Linked DNA regions of Homo sapiens: regions 2, 3 and 4 are each linked to region 1. Evidence: promoter capture Hi-C in 16 types of primary human blood cells and fetal thymus (Javierre and others, 2016). All regions are on one chromosome and are shown on one strand. Each heading gives the region's core, a stretch centred on a gene start or on the middle of the fragment in contact. The rest is flanking DNA. Distances are from core to core; before and after follow the strand shown.

Region 1 (6,288 bases), core at 2,070-4,569:
TGGGGAGTGTGGGAGTTTTGGATGATGAGGCAAAACAGATCCCGCCCCTTGAAGAACATTTTGGAGGTGTGCAAACTAAGACACCCAAAGAGGCTGGATTGAGATGGACGCAAAAACTATTAGTGGCCACACACAAATGGAGGCAATGGGATGGGACTGCCTTCCACCATCATGGGCTACAACATCTTGGAATTACAGACAGGAAAACATTTGTGATCTTGAGCCTAGCTAGCAGGGGTACAGTTTGGCTTCTACCTGTCAACATGTCTGCTTACAGAGATATAATTTTTAAGAGTTTTGAAATAGTACATCTAAAGACACATCTTATTTTAGTAAATCATTTCTCTTGAGGGGCACTGAGATTAGTCTTGCTTTTCCACTATGTGTAATTATTGCATATGCCTCCGTGAGTATTTCCACAGGCCAGATTTGGAGGAGCAGAATTACCAGATCAAAGCTATTGCCAAATTTCCTTTCAAGTAGCTTGGATCAATTTATTCTCTCACCAGCAATGTTTGAGATTGTTTTCATTGACATTCCTTAGCACATTATTTTTTTTTAATTTTCCAATCAAATGAGCTAATTTATGTTTGTCTCAAATTAGAGAGTCTTGTTAAAATCATATGTAGGTCATGTGTTATTTTTTAATGCCTGCAAAACTCAAAATCCTGTATTTCATCTCTTTACCTCTATATTATATTACCCTATAATATAAATTCTAAATCCCATAATTCCATTGTAAACTTTTTAAGACTTTCTTGGTGTGGGGGACTTGCAGGTAAATTGCTGAAAAGTGATCACTGAAAAACTTGAATATTGTTTTGTTCATGATTTAATTATGATAATGTAACCAAATCTGTATTACATGTTCCAGTTTTTTTTCAGTGAATGATGCTAGACCTTTACCTAAACAAAAAGCTTCTTTAGGAAGGACCTCCCTGTATAAAATAGCATCTGCAGTTTCCTTACTCTTATCTTTAAAAATACCTGTTCCTTAGAGCTGGAAATAATCACTTAATCACATACCTTAGATTATATCCCTATTATTTCAGCTTGTATTGAATTTATTGATGAATGCTCTAAAATATTGCTCATTAATATTTCAATTTCTGTTACAAATCATATAATTTGGGATTATCTATTCTTGTATCAAATATGAAGTGATTCTTAACAAATTAATTTCTGAAAGTATAACTTTATGGCTAAGATAATACAATCATAAATCAAAAGCCCTCTCTTCTTCATATTAATATTACCAAGTAAATAAATAATTTTTTGTTTGGTTCTGCTTAGATTCTTATGACCAAAGTTAATGGCTACTTCCAAGGACGATCTGATGTGTGAATTTTCTTAGTTCAGAAAATGTAAACTTTGGTGCAGAAATATTAGTAAATATATTTTATCATAGTTTGGATTTTTCTTTATACTCCTTCTTGATATAAATTGAAAAATTAAACCTTTTGGATCATTTTTTGAATCACTTTCAATGTATTTTGATGCAAAATGAGAGGACTAAAAAAATAAGAAACCTATCATAATAGTATTGTACTGATATAAATTTCTTTGGTGTTATAATTGTTAATCATTGTTAATCATGTTAATTATGCCAATTTCATTAACATTTACTTAATTGTAGGCATGTCAACTACAAATGCAATGCAAGATTCTTGATTGGATCCTGGATTTAAAACATAAAAAGATTCTAAAGGACATGTGGATAATTAGGAAAATTTGAATGTGTATCACATCTTAGATAATAGTATTGTGTTGATGTTATGTTTCCGTGGTGTTGTAATGTGTTATAGAAGACTGCCTTTATTTTTAGGAGATACATGCTCAAGAATTTAGGGGTGACATGTGTCCTAAAGTCAGCAACATACTTTCAAACCATTCAGGGAAAAAACTGTGCATATGTGCATGCGTGTGTGTGAATATATATATACACATATAGAGAGAGAGAAAAGGACAGGCAGAGACAGAGAAAGACAAAGCGAGAGAGAAAGTAAATGTGGCAAAAAGATACCACTGATTAATACACATGATGAAAATATGGGTGTTCGTTGTACTATTCTTTCAATTTTTATATAGATTTGAAACATTTCTAAATAAAAATTGGGAGGGGGAAAAAACCATATTTAGTTAATGAAGGCATATTTACATTGTATAATGTTTATTAAGAGCCTAGAGGGACAATATCTTATATATCTAAAATAATCACTACATATGAGATGAGAAATGTCTCAGTGACTTGATATAAATACTTCAAACATCATTTTGCTCTGAGATAATAGAATTAGTGTACTACCTTTGAATATCTCCAAAATTCCACTTATGATATGGATGTTTGACACAGACTTCAAATACTCTTCAATCCTCCAGAAGCTTCTCAAGCTCAGAAACAATCTTCTTCTCACACTGACCTATGCAAGAAATGTTATAAAATATCAATATAAATATTCTGTCCAAACCAGGTCTATATTTAAGCACAGATTCATATGCGCAAGACAAAGAATGTTTGAGCGAGTCTAAAGATAATTCAAACAAAACTCCACTCGTACATGCGCTATCTTTAATACCAAAAGGGAAGCTTTCCCCAAATCACCCAGATGAAAGTCGAAAAGCATCCTCACTATAGATCGCATTCATTTTGAATACATCCTGCCACACAGAAAAACACTATCACAAGCTTGCTGAACTGAATAATTGAGAGTCAAATCCAATTGGAAAGGACTGTGATTGTTTTCGTCTCTAAAACTGCATCACCGTAACTGAATTCAAGAGCTGTGTTGTCCCTGCAAAACCCTGCTTAGGTTTTTAGGCCTTCTTTTAAAAATGCAGAAGCTAAACCAGTGTGGCAATTAGTGAAAGAGGACTGCAAAAATAACACAATAAATATTTGCTCAGATCAGTCAAAAATTGTAGGTAAAAATATAAGTGTTTTAGAAATGCTTAGAATGTGGACACGAGGAGGTAAGGAAAGGAAGTATTGGGCTTAATTTCTCTTTATTTTTCAACTCCACTGAATGCTTGTTTAAACTCCCACTTGTCTCTGATATGGTAAGCTAGAAAAGCATTTTAGATGTCATAAGAATGGATCAGCGCTCTCGTGATAAAGGGCTAAGAAAGCGTGAGAAGACAGATGACAAAAAATAATAGCGGAGTTCTAGGGTCCTTTGCTTTCTTTTTCTTACCTTCACTAACCAATCTGCTCATCTGATCCGGCAGAAACACAGCAACTGACCAAACAGAGAGATGAACAAGCCAGCCAATGCTCTTTCCAGAAATTTTCACAAGCCTTTCACTGATGAGACCAGTAGACTGAGCTGCTCAGTGCAAAGCCATTCTTTTTATAATTGGTCCCATGGAAAAAGAGTTGTTTTTGTTCAAGTCCGATTTGTGCTAAAGAGGCAGTGGGAAGTCCCGGGAGGTGGGGAGGCAGTAACTGACAAAGCCACATCAAGCCACAGAATGGTGTTTCTTCCCCTTTTTCGAAAAATGAAACCTATCTACGAAACTGTCTCTTATTAAAATAGTTTATGGTTACACATTTTGTAAGAACCCTAGCAACAGAATTAAATTTCCTTTCTAGAAAAGTACATTATCTGGGATCCTTCACCCAAAAGAAAGCCAAAGTCACATATGACTTTAGGAAATTCTGTTTCGTTACTAATCTATAATTTTTAAGAAGTATTATTTCTCAATGGTACTTATAATTTTTAAAAATGTAAATGAAAAAAATTTTCTCGGCCGGGCGCAGTGGCTCACGCCTGTAATCCCAGCACTTTGGGAGGCCGAGGCAGGTGGATCAGGAGGTCAGGAAATCGAGACCATCCTGGCAAACACGGCGAAACCTCGTCTCTCCTAAAAATACAAAAAATTAGCCGGGCGCGGTGGCGGGCGCCTGTGGTCCCAGCTACTCGGGAGGCTGAGGCAGGAGAATGGCGTGAACCCGGGAAGTGGAGCTTGCAGTGAGCCGAGATCGCGCCACTGCACTCCAGCCTGGGCGACAGGGCGAGACTCCGTCTCAAAAGAAAAAAAAAAGAAAAAAGTTTTCCCTCTCCAAATACCGAAGGTCAAAACAATAATACATGGTGTGGGCAAAGTTGTGAAGAAACAAGCACTCTCAAACACTACTGATGAGATTGTAAACATATTTAGAGGGCAATTTCCCAGTATCTCTCAAATACAAATATTCATACCCTTTGACCCAACAATTGTATTTTTTATAAATTTGTCCAAGCTATATGTTTACACTTGTACACAAAGACTTATGTGAAAAGATATTTGTTGCAGCATTGCTTGAGAAAATAAATGACTAGAAAAAATTATATCCATAAATAAGATATTGGCCAAGTAAATGAGAACGTATGCATACTTAAAATCCTATGTAGGTTGTGTGCGGTGGCTCACGCCTGTAATCCTAGCACTTTGGGAGGCCGAGGCAGGTGGATCACTTGAGGTCAGAAGTTTGAGACCAGCCTGGCCAACATGGTGAAACCTTGTCTCTACTAAAAATACAAAACTTAGCCACGCGTGGTGGTGGGCACCTGTAATCCCAGCTACTCGGAGGCTGAGGCATGAGAATCCCTTGAACCCGAGAGGTGGAGGTCACAGTGAGCTGAGATTGTGCCACTGCACTCCAGCCAGGGTGACAGAGCGAGACTCCATCTCAAAAAAAAAAAAAAAGAAAAAAAAAGATCTCTAACATATATTGTTTAGCAAGAACTCATTTTCCAGTTTGTATTTTTAAGGAATATATGTATATACATGCTTATGTAATAGAATATTTCTTTTTAAAATTTTGTATTTTAATTTTTGTAGGTATACAGTAGGTGTATATATTTATGGGGTACATAAGATGTTTCGATACATGCATATGATGCATAATAATTACATCATGAAAAATGGGGTATCCATCCCCTCAAACATTTATCTTTTGTGTTACAAAAAATCTAATTATACTATTTTAGTTATACTAAAATGTAAAATTAAGTTATTATTCACTACAGTATCCCTGTTGTGCTATTAAATACTTTGTCTTATTCATTCTTTCTAACTAGTTTTTGCACCCATTAACCATCCCTACCTGCCCCACCAGCCCTCCACTACCCTTCCCAGCCTCTGGTAACCATGCTTCTACTCTCTATGTGCATGAGTTCAATTGTTTTGATTTTTAGATATCACAAATAAGTGAGAACATGTGATGTTTGACTTTCTGTTTCTGGCTTATTTCACTTAACATAATGACCTCTGGTTCCATCCATGTCGTTGCAAATGACAGGATCTTATTCTTTTTTGTGGCCGAATAGTACTCTATTGTGTATATGTATCACATTTTCTTTATCCATTTATCTGTTGATGGACACTGAAGTTGCTTCCAAATCTTAGCTATGGTGAACAGTGCTGCCACAAACATAGGAGTGCAGATATCTCTTCAATGTACTGATGTCCTTTCTTTTGGGTAGATACCCAGCAGTCCGATTGCTGGATCTTATGGTGGCTCAATTTTTAGTTTTTTGAGGAACCTCCAAAGTGTTCTCCATAGTGGTTGTACTAATTTACATTCCCACCAACAGTGTATGAGAGTTCCCTTTTCTCCCTATCCTCACCAGCATTTGTTATAGCCTTTCTAGAATATTTCTTTTTTTATGCTACACACAAGAAATCAGAAATAAGCAATTGTGTTTCAGGAACAAGACTCATTTTTCATTCTATACCCTTTTGAAATTTCTGTGTGTATGTATTACTTTTTCATTTTAAAAACTAGTATTCTTAAGTCATATTTAACTTTGATTGTACGGCCCAAATGTATTATAATCTATGTCTTTTCTGGAGGACAGACAAGTCTATCTGCAAATGGGTCAGTTCTTCTTGCCCAAAAGCAGAAAAATTAAGGGTTTCAAAATCATTTATCTGGTTTACCCTGACTGCTTCAAGTTAACCAACAAAGAATAAGCCTGCCCAAATCATAACTACTTCACTGTCTTTTTCTACCTAACTCCAATCAAAACTAAGTTCTATGGATACAAAAAACAAAACAAAACAAAACAAAGCAAAACAAAAAACAAAGCTAAGTTCCAAACTCTTAAGAGGTGAACATTTCCACTTAATGGGTTTGATTTTGTTTACTTTTGTTCAACGACTTATCTTAAAATGTCATATATTTTAAAGTATACTAGCATTTTTATTTTTGTTAGTCATGATTTTCTGCATTATTTTTTCATGAAACATTACTTAAATCCACTTTAGAAGGCATGCTCTCATGTATGAGCCATGATAAGGACAGTT
Region 2 (6,288 bases), core at 1,305-3,804, 300 kb before region 1:
TGTGATTTCAAGGAGAAAAAAATGGAAGATGGTAAAATACGATACTGTGCTTTTTCTACTGCAGCTCCTATTTGATCATTTAATGTGGGATAAGATTGAATATGTTGATTATCATGAAGACATTATTAATCAAAAAATAATATACAAAATCTAATCAAATTATAGCCCTATAAAACAGTTATGTTTTGAAATAATATTTCTAATAAGAACCATGAGAAGAAGTTGAGAAGATATTTATTACAGACAGATATTTATGACTAAAAAATACATACAGGTAGTTTATTGAATACGTTGGATTCAGTGGGTTGAAATTATGAAATGAGTTCATTTTTTCCACATCAGGGGATCTCAGAGCCTTTCCTATATAAGCAGATCACAACCATTCCTAAAAGGCCCAGTTCATGTAAAATGAAGATCCTCCTTCAAATACCTACTGTTTTGATAGCTGTCCCAGTTAACAATTATTAAATAATTATTGAATCATAATTAAGTACAAACACCTTGGACCTTACCAAAACCATACATACATTTTCTTATTATCTAACGGATTCAAGGTGGGGTGAGGTAGGTAAGAGTAATGCATTTCCTGAGAATGTAGACACAGGCATATCTTGTTTTTTTGTGCTTCACTTTATTGCACATCGCTGATACTGTGTTTTTTACAAATTGAAGGTTTGTGTTAATCCTGTGTTGAGCAAGGCTATCAGCACCATTTTTCCAACAGCATGTGCTGACTTCAGGTCTCTGTGTCACCTTATGGTAATTTTCTCAATATTTCAAACTTTATTACTATGATCATATTGGTTATGGTTATCTACAATCAGTGATCTTTGATGCTACTATTAAAATTGTTTTGGAGTGCCACAAGCTGCACCCATATAAGGCAGCAAACTTAATCGATCAGTGTTGTGTGTGCTCTGGTTGTTTCCCTTGCTCCCATCTCGCTCCCTCTTCTCAGGGTTCCTTATTCCCTGACACACAACAATATTGAAATTGGGTGAACTGATAACCCTATAGTGGCCTTTAAGTGTTCAAGTGAAAAGAAGAGTTGTAGGACTTTCAACTTTAAATCAAAAGCTAGAAATGATTAAGCTTAGTGAGGAAGGCATGAAAAAGCTCAGATAGGCTGAAAGCTAGGCCTCTTGTGCCAAACAGTTTGCCAAGTTTTGCATGCAAAGGAAAAGTTCTTAAAGGAAATCAAAAGTGTTACTCCAGGTAATACACAAATGATAAGAATGTGAAACATGCTTATTGCTGATATGGACAAAGTTTGAGAGGTCTGAATAGATCAAACCGGCCACAACATTCCCTTAGGTCGAAACCTAATCCAGAGCAACACTCTAACTCTTCAATTCTATGAAGGCTGAGAGAGGTTAGGAAGTTGCAAAAGGAAGTTTGAAGCTAGCAGAGGCTGATTCATGAGGTTCAAGGAAAGAAGTCATCTCTGTAACATAAAAGTGCAAGGTGAAGCAGCAAGTGCTCTTATAGAAGCTGCAGCAAGTTATCCAGAGGATCTAGATATGATCTAAGATGATGAAGGTGGTTACACTAAACAACAGATTTTCTTTGTAGATGAAACAGCCTTCTTTCAGAGGAAGATACCATCTAGGATTTTCATAGCTACAGAGGAAACTCAATGCCGGGCTTCAAAGAATCAAAAAACAAGCTGACTCTCTTGTTGAGGCCTAATGCAGCTGGTGACTTTAAGATGAAGCCAGTGTTCATTTATCATTCTGAAAATTCCAGGGCCTTTAAGAATTATGCTAATTCTATTCTACCTGTGCTCTATAAATGGAAGAATAAAGCCTGGATGACAGCACATCTCATTACAGCATAGTTTACTAAATATTTTAAGCTCACTGTTAAGACCTACTTCTGAGAAATAAAGATTCCTTTCAAAATAATACTCCTCGTTAGCAATGCACCTGGTTACCTGTGAGCTCTGATGGAGATGTATAAGGAGATTCATGTTGTTTTCTTTTATTATTATCATTATTATTATTATTATTATTATTATACTTGAAGTTCTAGGGTACATGTGCACAATGTGCAGGTTTGTTACATAGGTATACATGTGCCATGCTGGTGTGCTGCACCCATTAATTCATCATTTACATTAGGTATATCTCCTAATGCTATCCCTCCCCCCTCCCCAACCTCATGACAGGCCCCGGTGTGTGATGTTCCCCTTCCTGTGTCCATGTGTTCTCATTGTTCAATTCCCACCTATGAGTGAGAACATGCGGTGTTTGGTTTTCTGTCCTTGCGATAGTTTGCTGAGAATGATGGTTTCCAGCTTCATCCATGTCCCTACAAAGGACATGAACTCATCATTTTTCATGGCTGCATAGTATTCCATGGTGTATATGTGCCACATTTTCTTAATCCAGTCTATCATTGATGGGCATTTGGGTTAGTTCCAAGTCTTTGCTATTGTGAATAGTGCCGCAATAAACATACGTGTGCATGTGTCTTTATAGCAGCATGATTTATAATCCTTTGGGTATATACCCAGTAATGGGATGGCTGGGTCAAATGGTATTTCTAGTTCTAGATCCCTGAGGAATGGCCACACTGTCTTCCACAATGGTTGAACTAGTTTACAGTCCCACCAACAGTGTAAAAAGTGTTGCTATTTTTCCACATCCTCTCCAGCACCTGTTGTTTCCTGACTTTTTAAAGGAGATTCATGTTGTTTTCATGCCTGCTAATACAACATCCCTTCTGCAGTTCGGGGATCAAGGAGTAATTTTGGCTTTCAAGTCTTATTATTTGAGGAATACATTTTTTAAGGCTATAGCTGCTATCATTTCTCTGATGGATCTGGGAAGAGTAAATTGAAAATCTTCTGGAAACAATTCACCTTTTTATATGCCATTAAGAACATTCATAACTCATGAAGAAAGGTCAAATTATCAACATTAACAGGAGTTGGGAAGAAGTTGATTCCAACTCTCATGGATGAATTTGAGGGGTTCAGGACTTCAATGGAGTGAGTCACTGCAAATGTGGTGGAAATAGCAAGAGAACTAGAATTAGACACCTGAAGATATGACTGAATTTCTGCAATCTCATGATCAAATTTAAGCAGATGAGGAGTTGCTTCTTATGGATGAGCAAGAAAGTGATTTCTTGAGTTGGAAACTACTCCTGGTGAAGATGCTATGAACATTATTGAAATAACAATGAAGGGTTTAGAATATTCCATAAATGTGGTTGATAAAGCAGCAGCGGGGTTTGAGAAGATTGACTCCAATTTTGACAGAAGTTTTACTGGGGTAAAATACTATGAAACAGCACTGTATGCTTCAGTGAAATATTTGATGAAAGGAAGTGTCAATCAATTCTGTAAACTTTATTGTTGCCTTATTCTAAGAAATTTTAAGCAATCGCCACAGCCACCCCAACCTTCAGCAATCAGTACCCTGATCAGTCAGAAGTCATCCACATGAAGGCAAGACCCTCCACCAGCAAAAAGATGAAGACTCACTGAAGGTTCAGATCTTCATTAGCATTTTTAGCAATAAAGCATTTTTTAAGCAAGGTGTGCATGTTGTTTTTGAGACACAATGCACACTTAATAAACAACAGTAAGTACAATTTTAAAATCCAGTAGGAAATAAAAAAATCTGTGTGACTCACCTTACTGCAATATTGACTTTATTGCAGTGGTCTGGAACCAAACTTGCAATATCTCTTAGGTATGCCTGTGTATGAAAACCTAGATGTTCTACCTCAACATGTATCAGCTCAGCATGTTTTTAAAATTCTTCATAAAACAGGAACACATTTATTCTGAGTATTCAAAGCACTAGGAACCATTTCCTGACAGAGATCTGATCCTAGGGGCTCAGTGAGACCAGTGCCATTGCTGAATTGTACAATCGTTTATTTTCTTTGTGGAGTTTTGCTTCTTGTGTCTCACAGGCAGCAGCTCTCATTGCAGAGCAGGTATCTCAGAGATTGAATGAAGTTAACCCTTTTCTGTCATTACACCATTCTAAATATTTATTCGTCAAGCTTAATTCCTGTCTTCAAAATTGTACATCTCAGTGCTCCCAGTTTTCGCTCACATACTCACCATATGCTTGTCTGTAATTATTATGGCTCATTGACTATTGGTATTTGCTGGATGCTTTCCTCTTATTTTGCTTAATTCCTATTTTTTAATCTTTAGTGCTTTTTGCCTATCTCTGCTTCCATAGTGTTTATTTTGAGCTCATAGCTTATTGGTTTCTCTTTTCATATGTCATTCAAATTTTTTTCTATAGGCCTCACAGAGTTCTTACACAAAGTTTAGTCATCGATATCCTTCAGAAAATTTGTCAATATTTGATTAAACATCCAAAAACCTAGATCGATTGTTTGTTTAAGTTAATGTCCAGAATTGCATTCAATTCATATGAATAGTCACTACATATCAGTTTTGGGTTAATGAAAACATTTATACATTAATGGTCAATATTCCACATGATCACTTAATGAGCATTAGCTGAAGTGTGACCACGAAAACTAGCCCTAGCAACCCCTTGAGTAAAGACTCCAGAGTTTTATGTTGCTGTGCCATGATGATTCATTTGTATGAGTCATGTTTTCAGCAATATTTTTCTCCTTTGTCATTTCAAATTGTTGGTCAGCCTTTGTCACTGTGACTCATGGATTTTTACAAAACACAGAGAGATAGAATGGCTAAGGTCATTGGCTCTCCCTGTCCTTTGTAAAATCTCAATCTATTAAATGATCATTTTGCCTGTTCCACAGTTCACATGGGGATAGAGGGAGATAGATTTTGAAGCAGAGAAGGGAAGAAAAAGAAAGAGATTAAAATTTGGGGCTGAGGTTGGAAAAGGACCACAGGTTGAGGGTCCTGGTGAGAGTAAGGGAACCTATATATAGTTCAGAGGCTGTCCTCCAAGGAGATGACAACCTTCAGAGGGATGGCTTGTGATGAGCTCAGGGAATCTGGACAGGGGCTCCCAGACTCACCAAGTGAGTCACAAACATGTCTTAGAAACAGTGAAACTATCTGACCTGAAGAGACTCTGACCAAGCCTTAATAAAGGCTGAAATTGCATTTCCCGCCAGCCTGGTGGGCTGAAGCTTGGGTTTAAATTCTGGCTTAATTTTATTCAAGCGGGACAAAAAGTGAATATTTCTTGAATATCTGAGCTTAAAGAGTAAGATTCCTCCCTACAACATATGGAAGTTAATCCAAAACTTCTAAGAATTCTCATGCTGTATGTGTCTACATCCAGGACTGATTACAATCCCTCTTAAACAAGTGGCTTCCAAGACACCCATGCTTATCTGCATCAAGCCAGCAGGAAGAGGAAAAACATGGAGGATATCAAGTATATGGTCTGTATGTATTAGCTTGAAAATAGAACATATCACTTCTGTTCATATCTCATTGTCTAGAACTCCATTGTATATCCAATAGAGCACCAACTACAAGGTAAGAAGTTATGCTCAGTGATATATCCTATTTATGTGTCTGGGAAGAAGAAGGCCCTAATTTGTAAAGAGATAGACAGTCTCTTTGGAATTTGTTCTTCTGCCACTATATATTCATTTTTCTTCCCTCATATGGAACACATTCACTTCCCTCCTCAAGCAACTGAAAGTCTATTTCACTCACTTCATCCAGGTGAACATCCAGGACTTCTGAGTGATGTGCACTCTTCTCCATATGATCCAGATACACTTTGGTTATGTAATGATAAATCAGGGGCAGAATAAATGTCATAAAAACTTTTATTTAGAATAGAGAAAAATGAAAAACCCCTAGCAGCCACCGATCTGTGGCAATTATGAAATCCTGCTGAGGTACAAGACATTTCTTGATTAGACCCTGAATCTCTATCTGGGAAAAATTCCCCGGTCCAGGTCTACTGATTGAATTTCCCAATCACTTTTCTTGCAGAAACATACATCCGTCATGCTAGTCTCTACAAAAAGGAATGAGAAATTGCACATATTTAGAGAGCAATTGGAGTGCATAATTTTTTTATATTTTTATGACTTTTTCCAACTTTCACAGTTCTCTTGTTCACGTCTAATTTAGCAGCAATTTATATTTGTGCAACTCACCTTGGGCATTTAAAAGTATTTAATTTTAATGTAAAGAACACTTTATATTGGTACTCATTTTGTATGTGTAATATTTACCTAAAGTATAAAATTACAATAACAAAATAGGCTTAAATAAAATTGTTATTTAACACAGTAGATTCTTGGTAAACATATAACTCAACCAGTCTGAGCTAAGAAAAGTAGGGCATTCTAGAC
Region 3 (6,288 bases), core at 1,349-3,848, 280 kb after region 1:
GTAATTTTAGAGTTGGGAGAACTCCTATTAGAGTTCATCTGCTCCAATTCAACGCACATTTACAGATGAGGAAAAAGATGCCTGGGAAGTTACATGGCTTGACAATAGGCACTTAACTAGTTAACAGAAAAGCCAATTCTAGATTCTTATTCTCCTGAGTCCCAGTGCTCTTTCCACATGATAATTTCAAGGGAAAGGATGTCTGGCCAAAAGGACATTATTAAACTGGAGCTTTAGGAAGTTTAAAAAAAAGTCCAGCAAATCTTTACAAAATGAATTCTTAGAAATTTAATGAATTGGCTGTATTAAAACTCTATAGATCATTTTAACCTTTTCTTTATATAAAGTTTTTGATACTAAAATTCAAATACTTTAAAAAATGAGATCATGCGTGTAAAACATTAACATTCTACCCAGATGATAGTGACAAATGGCAATTATAATCAATATAGAAAATTTAAAATTCAAATACTTCAAAAAATACTTTGAGTGACGGAAAGATGTATTAATTGAAGAAAACCATTACAACTCAAAGATTTGAATTATTTTTACCTTGCTTGAAAATCGTATTGAGCAAGGAAGGGAAGATATTAAAAACAAATTTGGAGCCAAAGGATTCAAACTGATTGCCAACTAGAATGTGTCACTGACAGACATCTGAAGGAAAAAAATATGGAAGGTGAAATAAAGTATTCTTTTTTTTTTTATAGACCTATGGATTAGGGGAAAACAAAAACTAGAGAGTTTCGTTTGAAACATAAGGTAGTCATGGATACTTTAACATCTGATATTTTTATTAATAACCCTGAAATTCCATGTTCTCTACACTGAGTTAGCCTACTTAGTATTGTCACAAAAAGGACCCAAATTCAAAATGATATAAAGTTGGAATTGTCAGCATATCTATAGTGACAAGTTGAGTAAATTTTCCTATGAAGAAAAATTTAAAAAACCACAAAACCAAGATATTAAAGTATTATTTTTACAGAAGTACTGTACAAAGAAAACTACCAGAATAGATTCTAATGTCACATTTGACTGTTAAATGTCTTTAAAGAAAAATAAGGATAAAAAATGTATCAAACAGTAAACATGAGGAAGAAATCAAAATCATTTCAGAGGTAAGAATTTTTAAGACATATAATGAACACTTTTGAAAGGAATGAGGCAAAAAAGCATCATATTCCTAAAAAGTGATCCTAAATTGAGGATGATACACCCCAGAGTGAGGCTCTAAGGCTTGCACATTAAATGCAAACTGCTGAGCTTCGTACATTTTAATGTGAATAAAGCAGTTTTCCAGAGCCAGTAGGTGGTAAATCTCCATACCAATATATTTTATTAATCCCAAAGGAAGAAAAAAGTGAAAGACTTAGGACAGTGTAATTATCAACAAATGTTCACTGAGCTGAATTTGAAGTTCTATTTCTTCAGTTTAGTTAAATGGTAATGAAAAATGCAGGTAATAAAGGGCTAAGTGAAATAAAACAAGGTCAGGGCTAGGTTGGGCCCTAAGATAGGTGAGGAAGGTGATTGCTAGGAAGTGGTTTAAACTAAAAGCTTCATCCTTATTTGGTTTCACTCCGGTGGGAAGTGTCTTTGCTCTACCAGAAACCAAAATGGGGCCAAAGTAAAGAGCTGAGATTCAGGCTAGGAATGTGTGTGAGAAAAAGCAAAGGCAAGCTGTAACACAAAAACCATAAGCCCAAAGCTCTAGACTAGTAAAGGGCTTGCAAACAAAGGAAGCACCTCTGTTACCATCATTGTTCTCTGAGTCTCTATTTTTAATTAACCACACCTGTATATAGGTTTAGGTTATGTCCTGAGCTGCTCACACTGCCATAAGGTAGAGTTTGAACATGAGTACTGACTGTGTGTGAGGAAGACCAGTGAGCATGGTAGAAGTACTGCTGCCCAAAGTTAAGCAAATAGGTAAGTGCCATAACCCAAAACACTAAGATCCTGTGAAGGATTATATAAAACATAACAAGGGGACAGTGGGACAGGGAGATGGGGTACAGGGAAAGTGGTAGGCCAACTTCTCTGTTTGTTGTCCCCTGAGTGGGAAAGACACATTCTGTCTTCGAGATGAGATTTAATTCAATGTAAGACACACAGCAAAACAAAGGTAAGGTGAGTGAAAATGGGCTTACATTTAAAATTAGATATCGGTAAGGATTTAGCATTAGAAAAACAGGGAGTGGATTATCTAAAGACTTTTAAAAAAAGACTCAAAAGTGTGTAGTCTAAGAAGTTAAAATGATACATTTAAGATTCAAAATTCAACTCTAAGGACTTAGGGACTGATAGTACAACCCAAAAACTTCAAAAAGTGAAACATAAGGAGAATCTGTTTTTCTTGTTGCTACATGCTTTTATTTTCTTCTCCAATCTGTGGTTCTCAATGGTGGGAGATTTTGCCTCCCATGAGACATCTGGCAATGTCTAAAGACATTTTCAGTTGTCACAACTGCGGGGATGCTATTGTTATTTACTGGGTAGAGGCCTCGGATGCCTAGAACGTTTAGTAATTCTACAATGCACAAGGCCGACTCCCACAACAGAGAATTATCCAGGCTAGACTGTCAACAGTGCCAAGGTTGAGGGAAATCCTGCTCCACACACACACACACACACACACACACACACAAGAAAACATACCTGGGTTCTAATTACATCACACATCACCAGCTCTAATAGGAAAAACTAGAACTTAATATCACTATCACTGGTAGGTAACTTACCTGTAACATGCACTGAGACACCACGCCCTCTGGAATTTCAGGGAAACGTTGTCGAAGATCATGGAGAACCTGAATATCAAGCTGTGGGCTGCTTTGCGCCATGCCAGAGCAAATGGTGGCCAAGTTTCTCTTAGGAAATGGATGTTAACCGGCTTTCCAAAAGTAATGATCTTCTAGCACCACAGTCATTTTCTATTTAAAAAAAAAAAAAAAGTATGGTTAAGTCTAGTTACATATTTTACTTTATTCCTATTGATCCTATACATCTCAGTAGTGGTGGCATCTCCTCTAAGGAGGCTTCCACTGACACTCCTTCTTAGTCCTGCTGCCTTGCCTCTCCCCTCCACAATGCTGCCAAAGCAGGCTGTGCTTACCCTCACAGAAACACTAAACACGCTATACTGAAACCATCTATGCACCTAAAGGTCTCACCTATTTAAAAAAAAAAAACAAAAAACAAAAACCTGAAGCCCCACCTGGAATATAGCTCATTATTAAAGACAGTGAGGAAGTACTCAAGAAGTGATGGGAACATATAAGGACCTGGAAGTCAACTTGAAGAGGTGCACTCACTGGCCACATTTGCAACAATTTGAATACCAAAATAATAAAAGACAGTAATGAGTTATAAACCTGTAGAAAAGAGGGAGCCGTGTGTCCGTATCAATGAAGATAGCTAAATACATACCTACAAAAATAGGGGAGAAGGGAAGTCCCTGCTTACAGTAAAATCCAATTGGTAAACATGCAGGAGTGCTGGAGCTGGAAGAAAAATCATTTTGCAGCCATCATAGTATAGACTACTTCAAGCAAGTATCATCAATGGATGCTAAATCTAGGGGAAAATCTGGATGAAGAGTAGGAAATACACACAGTTTTAAAAGTGTGTACCCAAAGCTTATTAGTTGCAAAGGGGAAAAATTTAATTATACAGTGGACAAATTGAACAACATCTTGACTGGGTGATCAAAATGATGAACATCACCAATGAGGGCCAGATGGACTGCACAGGCCTCCAGATGTGACACCATGAGAAAAACACATCATTTTATAGTATTACAGTCAGAAATGCATAACCTGAAACTAATCATGAGGAAATAGAACATTTCTCATTTTGGGCTTTTCTATTAAAAAGCGAAGGGGAAAGGAAATGTCATTTTAAGACAAAGGTTTGAAAAATGTCCCAGGTTAAAAAAGAGAGAGCCATGACAACTAAATCTTTTACCTGATCCTGATCCTATACTAAAAGGGAAAACTGTTAATAAAATAAATGAGTGGATCCACTGACCAAAGTGAAATGTTGATGGTAGATTAGAAGTATTCTATCAATGTTAAATGTATTGAATTTCCTGTTTTCTGAATTGATAACTGTGCTGTGGTTACATAAGAGAATATTCCTATTTTTCGGTATTAGACAATGAAGCATTCAGTGGTAAAGGGCATGCAACTTACTCTCAAACAGTTCAGAAAAAAATATATGTACATGTGTACATACAAACATGTGTACATGCACACATGCATGTGTGCACAGACAACTATAAAGCAAATAGGAAAATGTTAATAGGTAAATTTAGGTAAAGGGTATGCGGTGTTCTTTCTCCTATTTTTAGTCAGTTTAAAATTATTTCCAAATAAAAAGTAAAAATGACAACAAAAACCAGCTAACCAAACAAAAGCCTGTAGCTCTACTCAAGATCTGTGCCTTGTTCACCACTGTATTTACAGAGCCCAACTACTCAAGTATCTGTTAAATGATGAATCAATTTCACTATACTAAACCAGTCTACCTAATAAGATAGATTTGGATAAAACACTATTCATATTCAAAGAAAAATATATAGACAAGCCTTTTAGATGACTCTTGTCCCCCCATCTCCTGCCATCCCCCCACCCAGCAAATGTCAGGGGAGTGGAGTCACCTATATAGGGCAATTTGTGAACACATAGGGAAAAAAATTGGTTTACGCTTCTAAATCAATGGGTATATTTTTCCAGTTTGTCCCTTTTGAAAACTCCAAATCTGAAATACTAAGAGATGCTACCAGATTAACAATCCAGGATTTAATTTAAAATGTAAATTATTTCAAAGTCCTTAGTGTTAATTTAACTTTTTTCTGAATGGGGTTTGAATTATCTATCTTCCATTTTCACAGTAAAGCAATTTATAATTTCCACTGGCCAAAGGAGTCCTAGCTAGATGTATAATCCTACCAAGTCACTGAAGCTCTAAGGCAGCATTGTCCAGTAAAAAATATGTGAGTCATATGTATAATTTTAAATGTTCTAGTGGCCAACTTAAAAAGAAATAGGTGAAATTAATTGTAACATTTAACCCATGTCAAAAGTATTGTTTTAAATGTAATCTACATAAAATCAGTTATTTTATATATATTTTTCAAATGATATCTTTGAAATCCAGTGTATATTTTATACTTACAGCACATCTTAATTCACACTGGTCCCATTTCCAGTGCTCAGTAGCCACCTGTAGTTAGTGGCTACTTTACTGGACAGTGCAGCTCTAAGGCTTTAGGATCTTCATTTAAATAATAGGCGACTACCTACAACTCTTAGATTCCTTAATTCAACATCTCCTTTGAGGGTATACAATCGAGTAGGCACATGGCCTAGCACAGGCTAGCTGTTCAATAAATATTTATTAGGAGAAATGGGGAGAAAAAAGGAATTCACTGAATTTAATGGTAGGGATGACCTTAACTAATCAAATCGGCTTGTATTTACAGAAATAACAGTTTTCCTAACAGGAAGTGATCCCAGTATTTTAGGTGCTAAACCACATTCAGAACACTTCATGGCTATTTAATCAAACCTTCAATAAAGAGCTTCTGAAGCAGCCAAAGGCCTAACTCCAGCTTTCCCAATGGCTCCCAAAAACGGTTTTATTCATTTTCCAACCTTAATTACAAGCCTTTAAAATACAAGGGCAATACCATTGTCTTTTTTATGAGCTAGAAGAAAAGGCAAGAAGAATCAAAACACGGACAGACAGGCTTCAGGTGTCAAAAGCATAGGCTCCATATACTTCAGAGATCTTGAGAGCGGCCAGCTCTCACCTAGCTTTGTCAGAGCCTTCAGAAACCTCAGATGCTACTGAATCCAAGGTTACCATTATTTTTATCACTATAATTAGCTACCATTTACTGGTAGCTAATAATATGCCCTCAAAGGTAGTTATGATTATCTCCATTTTACAAATAAGAAAATGAACTCAAAGAATGAACATATGGCAGAATCATGACTCAAATCCACGCCTGCCTGCTCCAAAGTCTGTGTTCTTTCCACTGTGTCACTAGTAGGTATCAGAGACATTTCTAATGATGAGTGCCTTTCTTTGACTGGCTAAGGAGCAAACCCTCATTAAGTTTATCATTCACATAGGGAGCTAAAGGTGTGTGGTGAGGTGGAAGACTGAGAGGGAAGGAAAAAATAATTCTTGTACAAATAAGTTAGCTGTTTAAACACACAAGAAGAAAATGCCTTTTTAAAAAATGGTTATAAATACTTTCCTTTGAAGAAACATGTT
Region 4 (6,288 bases), core at 1,379-3,878, 260 kb after region 1:
TAAAGGTTTTTGAAAGATGCCCTTTATGAGACTGAAAGAGTTCTTTTCTATTCTTAATTTGTTTAAAGTTTTTGTCTGTCAGGAATGGCTGTTGAATTTTGTCAAATGTTTTTCCTGTATCTGGTGAAACGATCACATGCTTTTCCTCCCTTTGTTTAATATGGTAAATTACACTGGTTGGTTTTTTAATGCCTATACCAAGATTATATTCCTAAGCTAAACTCAACTTGGTCATAATGTATTATCTTTTTTTATATAGTGACTATAAGTCAATGAGATAGAAAACAGAATTATGGATTTTTTGTTTCTATGTTCATGAAGTTTATTGATCTGAAATTTTGTTTTCTTTTTGTGAGGGGCAGATACATAATGTCTTTACCAGGTTTTAGAATCAGAGTTCTGCTAGCGCCATAAAAAAAGATGGGGTACAACACCAACAGTGAACCCTAATGTAAACTATGGACTCTGAGTGATTATGAGGTCTCAATATAAGTTCATCAATTGTTACAAACGTACCACTCTGGTGTAGGATGCTGATAATGGGGCAGGAGGTATATGGAAAATCTCCGCAACTTCCTCTCAGTAACATGAAAAGGAAATGAAATGAAAAAACAAAAAAGAAATACGGGAAGCGTTCCCTCCTGTATTTTCTCAAAGAGTTTAAGATTGGTATTTTTACTTTCTTAAATATTTGGTGGAATTTACCCACCAGTGAATCTATCTGGATCTGGAGTTTTCTTTGTGGGGGAAAATTTTGATAGTGGATTCAGTTTCTTTATACATATATATATTATATATATATATATATATATATATATATAATATATATTAAAAAAACACACACTTACTAATATTTACTGTTTTGTCTTGTTTTCAGTTTGGGTAGATTATATTGTTCAGGAAATCTGTCCACTTTATCTAAGGTGTCAAGCTTACTGCATAAAGATGTCCATCACTTTCCCTTATTATCATTATCATTGTAATAGATAACCCATCTTTCACTTTTGATTGTGGTAATTTGTGTTCTCTTTTTTTACAGATCAGTCTACCTTGAAGTTTATTGATTTTGTTTATCTTTTCAAAGATCAAACTTGCTTTGTTAACTTTTTCTGTTTTCTATCTCATTGACTTTCCTTTCTTCTACTTTGTTTTTACTTTGTTCTTGTCTTGTTTCTTAAGGTAGAATTTTAGATATTCCTGTCTTACATGAGCATTTAAAGCTATAAATTTCCTTCTAAGCACTGCTTTAACTATCGCATGGGAAAGAATTTTGCCTTGCCCAAACAGAGGTCTGGCTTTGTCCCTGGCTCAAAACCTTGAAATTTCCTGAGTAACGGCAGTGTCTTTGTTATTTATGGTGGGTCCCTCAGACCGCATGATATGGTTTGTCTGTGTTCCCACCCAAATCTCATCTTGAATTCCCACATATTGTGGGAGGGGCCTGGTGGGAGGTAATTGAATCATGGGGGCAGGTCTTGTGATAGTAAGTCTCACGAGATCTGATGGTTATTATAAGGGAGAGTTTTCCTGCACAAGCTCTCTTTAAGATGTGACCTGCTCCTCCTTGCCTTCTGTGATGATTGTGAGGCCCGCCCAGTCTTGGGTATGTCTTTATCAGCAGCGTGAAAACAGACTAATACACCACACCTATAGGGAGTTTATGCTGAGGGATGGCTCATGATGCACGTGTTTTCCACCATTTCTAATCAACTTGGTCCTGTTTCCAGGGTAAAAACTTTCCAATGCACTCCCTTAGACAGGGCAATTGCTCTAAGACAGCTCTTTGAATCAATGAACTAAAGTTTGTCTGGCGATACTTCTTTAGTAGACATTCAGGCAAAATCGAGTTTAAAGACTGATTTTATGAACCCAAAAGACTAAATTGATCAATGCTAACTATACACCTCAGTGACTTTCGGCAAGAAACTGCATATGATGCTGCCAAAGTGCCAAATCTGGCACTCGGCAGTCATCCACTAAGATGATTCTTTGTGCCATTTTTAGAAATCAATAGACTATTTTTTGGCCAGGTGCGGTAGCTCATGCCTGTAATCCCAGCACTTTGGGAGGCTGAGTCACTTGAGGTCAAGAGTTCAAGACCAGCCTCGCCACCATGGTGAAACGCCGTCTCTACTAAAAATACAAAAATTAGCCGGGCATGGTGGTGGGTAATCCCAGCTACTTGGGAGGCTGAGACAGGAGAATCACTTGAACCTGGGAGGTGGAGGTTGCAGTGAGCTGAGATAGTGCCACTGCATTCCAGCCTGGGTGACAGAGAGAGTCTCCATCTCAAAAAAAAAAAAGAAATCAATAGGCTGTTTTTAAATGTAGATCAGATGAAACATCGATGGTAATATTAAACAATAAAAAGAAGAACAGATACTATGTTGCAACTTATAAATAAAAAAAAAAACACTCTGTAATGAGCTTAATATACGTAGAAAACTATTCAACCAAAATTTAAGTAATTAGGTCAGGTAGTATTATTTAGATAGAATTTATACATTCTTTTAATTAAGTCTGATGAGATGTTAAATGTTATACTCTCTGGTAATTTTTTTCAAAAATAAGGCATTCTCCACTGTTCTATGTGTCTTCATGATCAATCTACCTTGAGTTGCTTAAGGCAAAAAGGATTAAAATATTAAGAATGAGGCAGAAAGTTAATCTACATTCAATGACTACTTATTTATGAATGAATGAATAAATGACAGGGTCTCTGTCGCCTAGGCTGGAGTACAGTGGCGCGATCTCGGCTCACTGCAACCTCCACCTCCTGGGTTCAAGTGATTCTCATGCCTTAGCCACCTGAGTAGCTGGGATTACAGGCGCGCGCCATCAGGCCTGGCTAATTTTTGTATTTTTAGTAGAGACGGGGTTTTGCCATGTTGGCCAGGCTAGTCTCGAACTCCTGGCCTCATGTGATCCATCCGTCTGGCTTAAATGACTGCACGTGTAAATTCAATTAAAATTAATTTTTTAAGATACAGAAATGCCAATTAAACATTTGCTACATAAAAATAAGAACATGTTTGATATCTTTAATTTTAAATCATTTTTATGTAACAACTATCCAAAAATGATTCCTTCAAACCTTGGTTATATAGGATTTCTTTTGTTCTTGATGGGAAAATACCTAGTCGCTACCAATTGCTATGCTCCCCTTTTGAGTACACAAGTATTCTTTTGTTGTCTGAAAAATAATCTTAAGTCTATTGCAAATCTAACTTTCTATTCTCACATTAGACCTTTAAAATCCTCATTATTTTATGAGAATTATCTTTTAGGGTTATAGTTTTTACAATGCTAAGTAAATTTATAATGTTAACTATGTAATATAGTGTTTCAGCTTCTGTTTGTAAAAAATTATATAGTCCATCAAATTACCTCTGACAGTAATTCTAAGAGTTACTAATTTCAGTACTTTTTAAAAACTAAAGTTTGGGGACATTTCATTATTGCCACATTATAACACCAATATGGTAAATTTGTTGAGACCAGTGAGCAACATGGTGAGATCCCATCTCTACAAAAAATAAAAAAAAATTAGCTGGGCATGGTGGTGTGTGCCTACCATGCCACACACCAGCTACTTGGGAGGCTGAGGCAGAAAGATCGCTGGAGCCCAGAAGGTCGAGGCTGCAATGAGCCATGATCACACCACTGCACTCTAGCTGGGGCAGCAGAATGAGACCCTGTCTCAAAAAAATAAAAATAATAAAAATATGGTAACTTTATGCTGAACAACTTAACCTCTAGTGGAAATTTCTTCAGATAAATGTGAAATCCCAAATTATTTTGACATTTATTTCTATCGTATTTGTGACATTTTTCATACTCACCTTTTTTAGATGGCTTGGGTGGTACAACTGGGCCAGGTTCTATGTTGTCATAAAAATTATTCATGGCTTTTGGATCAAAGTTTCCTATAAAGAAAGTAAATTCATCAGGCATTTAAGAACTCTTTTTTCCTGTTATTTGATTTTTTTTTAAAGAAAATATGTAAATAAAACACATAAGAAGGGAAAAATGTTTTCCAGGATTTCAAAATTCATTACATAATTCTGTCCTCCCAATGAAATTGTGTTTTCATCGCTGTGAGAAAAGACCCAAGAAAACCACTACACAGATGTATGTCTACAATGTATTACACTTAAAGGAATATTTTTCTAATTGTAAGGCTAGTCTCCTTAGGCAGGATTAGGCATGTGGGGCATTTGGGGAGATAAATGAAGAAGAGAAATGAAAGGATGGTTGAACTGTTTTCTCTTTCTGCTTGTTTTGATTTTTAATGAACAAACTGTGAGAAAGAACACTTAAATAATGAAAGCTTACTTTCATATTTATCATAATTTACCTTAAAAATTCATTATAAATTGAACTACAGAAAAAGCCAAATATAAACATTTACAAGGATTAATCAAGTTATATTTTGAGACTACTAAGCAACCTCAATAAATGTGAAATAACATCAGCAGTTTATGTATTCTTATTTTCAAGAAAAGGAGAATCTTACACTAAGTGTTAAATGTTTCCTACAGATTTATCAATGATAAAAGGTGCCAATTTCAGAATAGATAGAACAATACCTGAGAATTTTGTCTTGCCACAAAATTTTCACCTGTCTGTCTTCAAATGTTCATTCCCTGGTCTAGTGTCTGTATTTCAGCCACATCTCCTGCTGTGTCTCCTCCAAGGTTGGTTTTGGGTCCTGCCTTCACTTCTGTGAACCTATCACTGTGCTCTGCTTGTTCTAAACGATTACAGTTAACTGTAGCCATACTTATTTATAGAAGATGCTGTATGGTACTAATACTGATAGTTTAAATATATTAAATCTCTTCATTTCCAGATCTACTTTTTTTTTTCCCAACAAGTTTTCCTTACCAAAAATCACAAAAAAGCTGGTTTTCATCAAGTCATGCACTGATTTGCATCTATTCTAAATGCTTATTCCCCTGCCTCCCCCCGTCACCACCGAAAAAGGTTTAGATTCCTTCCCTAGCTTAAAAGTTTAGATTGGAAACTCAGTATAAAAAGTTTTCTGCAGTGTGGAAGAGTAGAATTTAGTATAAAATGGATACATTTAGATTCGTTATGAAAAGAGATTTAGAAATGCCTAAGTATCCCAAAGAGCTCATTGTCCAATGCAGACAAAAAACACAGCTCTTTGCTTATAAAACCTTAATAGTGGTTTCCCTTGCAGGCCCTTTCACAAATGTTTTATCCACTTGAATATGCTGTTTTAAGATAATTTTCTGAAAATAATTGCTGTGATAGCTCATAAAAGCCACAGTGCTATTTGATGTATTAATTGAATCTTTTTATGCTTTAAGAAGCTGCATATGTATTTCTTCAATTACTTGTTACAGCTCATGTTCTAATTTCTAGATCACAAAAGGCTTACTATAAGTATCCTAACCAAATGTTTTACTGTTTGTTTTGCTCCAAAGACCACACAAGTAAAAGAAATTGATGCAATCTTCTAAAATATAGTAGCAATAGTTTATGTAACCCCTACATCATGCATAGTAATTCTTTGATTGCTTCAAGTTAGTGGGCTATAGAGTGACTAGGCTTCTGAAAATGACTTTAAGGGTACCTGACTAGATTGCTCAATTCTCACATTCAAATTTGCTTCTGTCTGTTGTTCAGATAATGCCGTGTCTTTTGGGTTCACCTGCCACTAATCTTTAATCTCTCGCTCTTTGTTTTTTAGACCGAGTCTCCTTCTGTTGCCTAGGCTAGAGTGCAGCGGTGTGATCACGGCTCACTGCAGCCTTGACCTCCTGGGCTCAGGTGATCCTCCTGCCTTAGCCTCCCACGTAGCTGGGATCACAGGCACACACCACCACACCTAGCTAATTTTTAAAAAATTATTTGTAGGGATGGGGTCTCCCTATGTTGCCCAGGCTGGTCTCTAACTCTTAGGCTCAAGTGATCCTCTCACCTTGGCCTCCCAAACTGCTGGGAATACAGGCATGAGCCATTGTGCCCAGCCTACTGTTTGTTTAATCTTGCCTAAAAATGGCAGTGAGATATTTTATTATATACTCTTAAAACACTGTAGAAAGTCTTAGCTGCCATAATCAAGAAAAGTTAAGTGTGGGGGATGGGGGGCAGGAAAGCTGATTAATACACAGAATTAAGAAAAATTACACGTCAACTTTAACGTAACAAAACACTTGTATATAGCTATATTTTAAAGTTAGTTAGATAAAGACCTAATTTTTACGTGTCTGTTGGCTGGGGTTCCATATTGTATTTCTTACATAAACCACACCCATG

The links. The method cuts DNA at HindIII sites, captures the fragments that hold promoters and counts their contacts. A CHiCAGO score of 5 or more calls a contact.
Region 2: a fragment that was not itself captured here is called in contact with the fragment with the promoter of TASL in region 1 in 1 of 17 cell types (M1 macrophages); the score reaches 7.9 in M1 macrophages.
Region 3: a fragment that was not itself captured here is called in contact with the fragment with the promoter of TASL in region 1 in 3 of 17 cell types (neutrophils, monocytes and naive B cells); the score reaches 6.6 in neutrophils.
Region 4: a contact is called between a fragment that was not itself captured here and the fragment with the promoter of TASL in region 1, in 1 of 17 cell types (neutrophils). The highest score is 13.1, in neutrophils.

Annotation. Positions count from the first base shown.
Region 1 is chrX:30,574,447-30,580,734 of GRCh38, forward strand. It overlaps TASL (TLR adaptor interacting with endolysosomal SLC15A4), which reads right to left and starts at 3,320. Exons shown (of 3, transcript NM_025159.3): 1 at 3,192-3,320; 2 at 2,306-2,420. RefSeq lists an enhancer at 3,342-3,551. The HindIII fragment of the contact is 8,514 bases long and covers 2,685-6,288 here.
Region 2 is chrX:30,279,042-30,285,329 of GRCh38, forward strand. No RefSeq gene overlaps it. Among named protein-coding and RNA genes, the nearest start is that of NR0B1, 27 kb to the right of the region's middle. RefSeq lists a silencer at 3,251-3,352, an enhancer at 4,036-5,235 and cis regulatory regions at 4,385-5,125, 5,216-5,362. The HindIII fragment of the contact is 2,928 bases long and covers 1,091-4,018 here.
Region 3 is chrX:30,856,743-30,863,030 of GRCh38, forward strand. It overlaps TAB3 (TGF-beta activated kinase 1 (MAP3K7) binding protein 3), which reads right to left. Exons shown (of 11, transcript NM_152787.5): 5 at 2,745-2,936. The coding sequence starts at 2,846. Among named protein-coding and RNA genes, the nearest start is that of TAB3-AS1, 25 kb to the left of the region's middle. The HindIII fragment of the contact is 2,081 bases long and covers 1,559-3,639 here.
Region 4 is chrX:30,839,124-30,845,411 of GRCh38, forward strand. It overlaps TAB3 (TGF-beta activated kinase 1 (MAP3K7) binding protein 3), which reads right to left. Exons shown (of 11, transcript NM_152787.5): 9 at 3,843-3,926. Among named protein-coding and RNA genes, the nearest start is that of TAB3-AS1, 7.6 kb to the left of the region's middle. The HindIII fragment of the contact is 3,399 bases long and covers 930-4,328 here.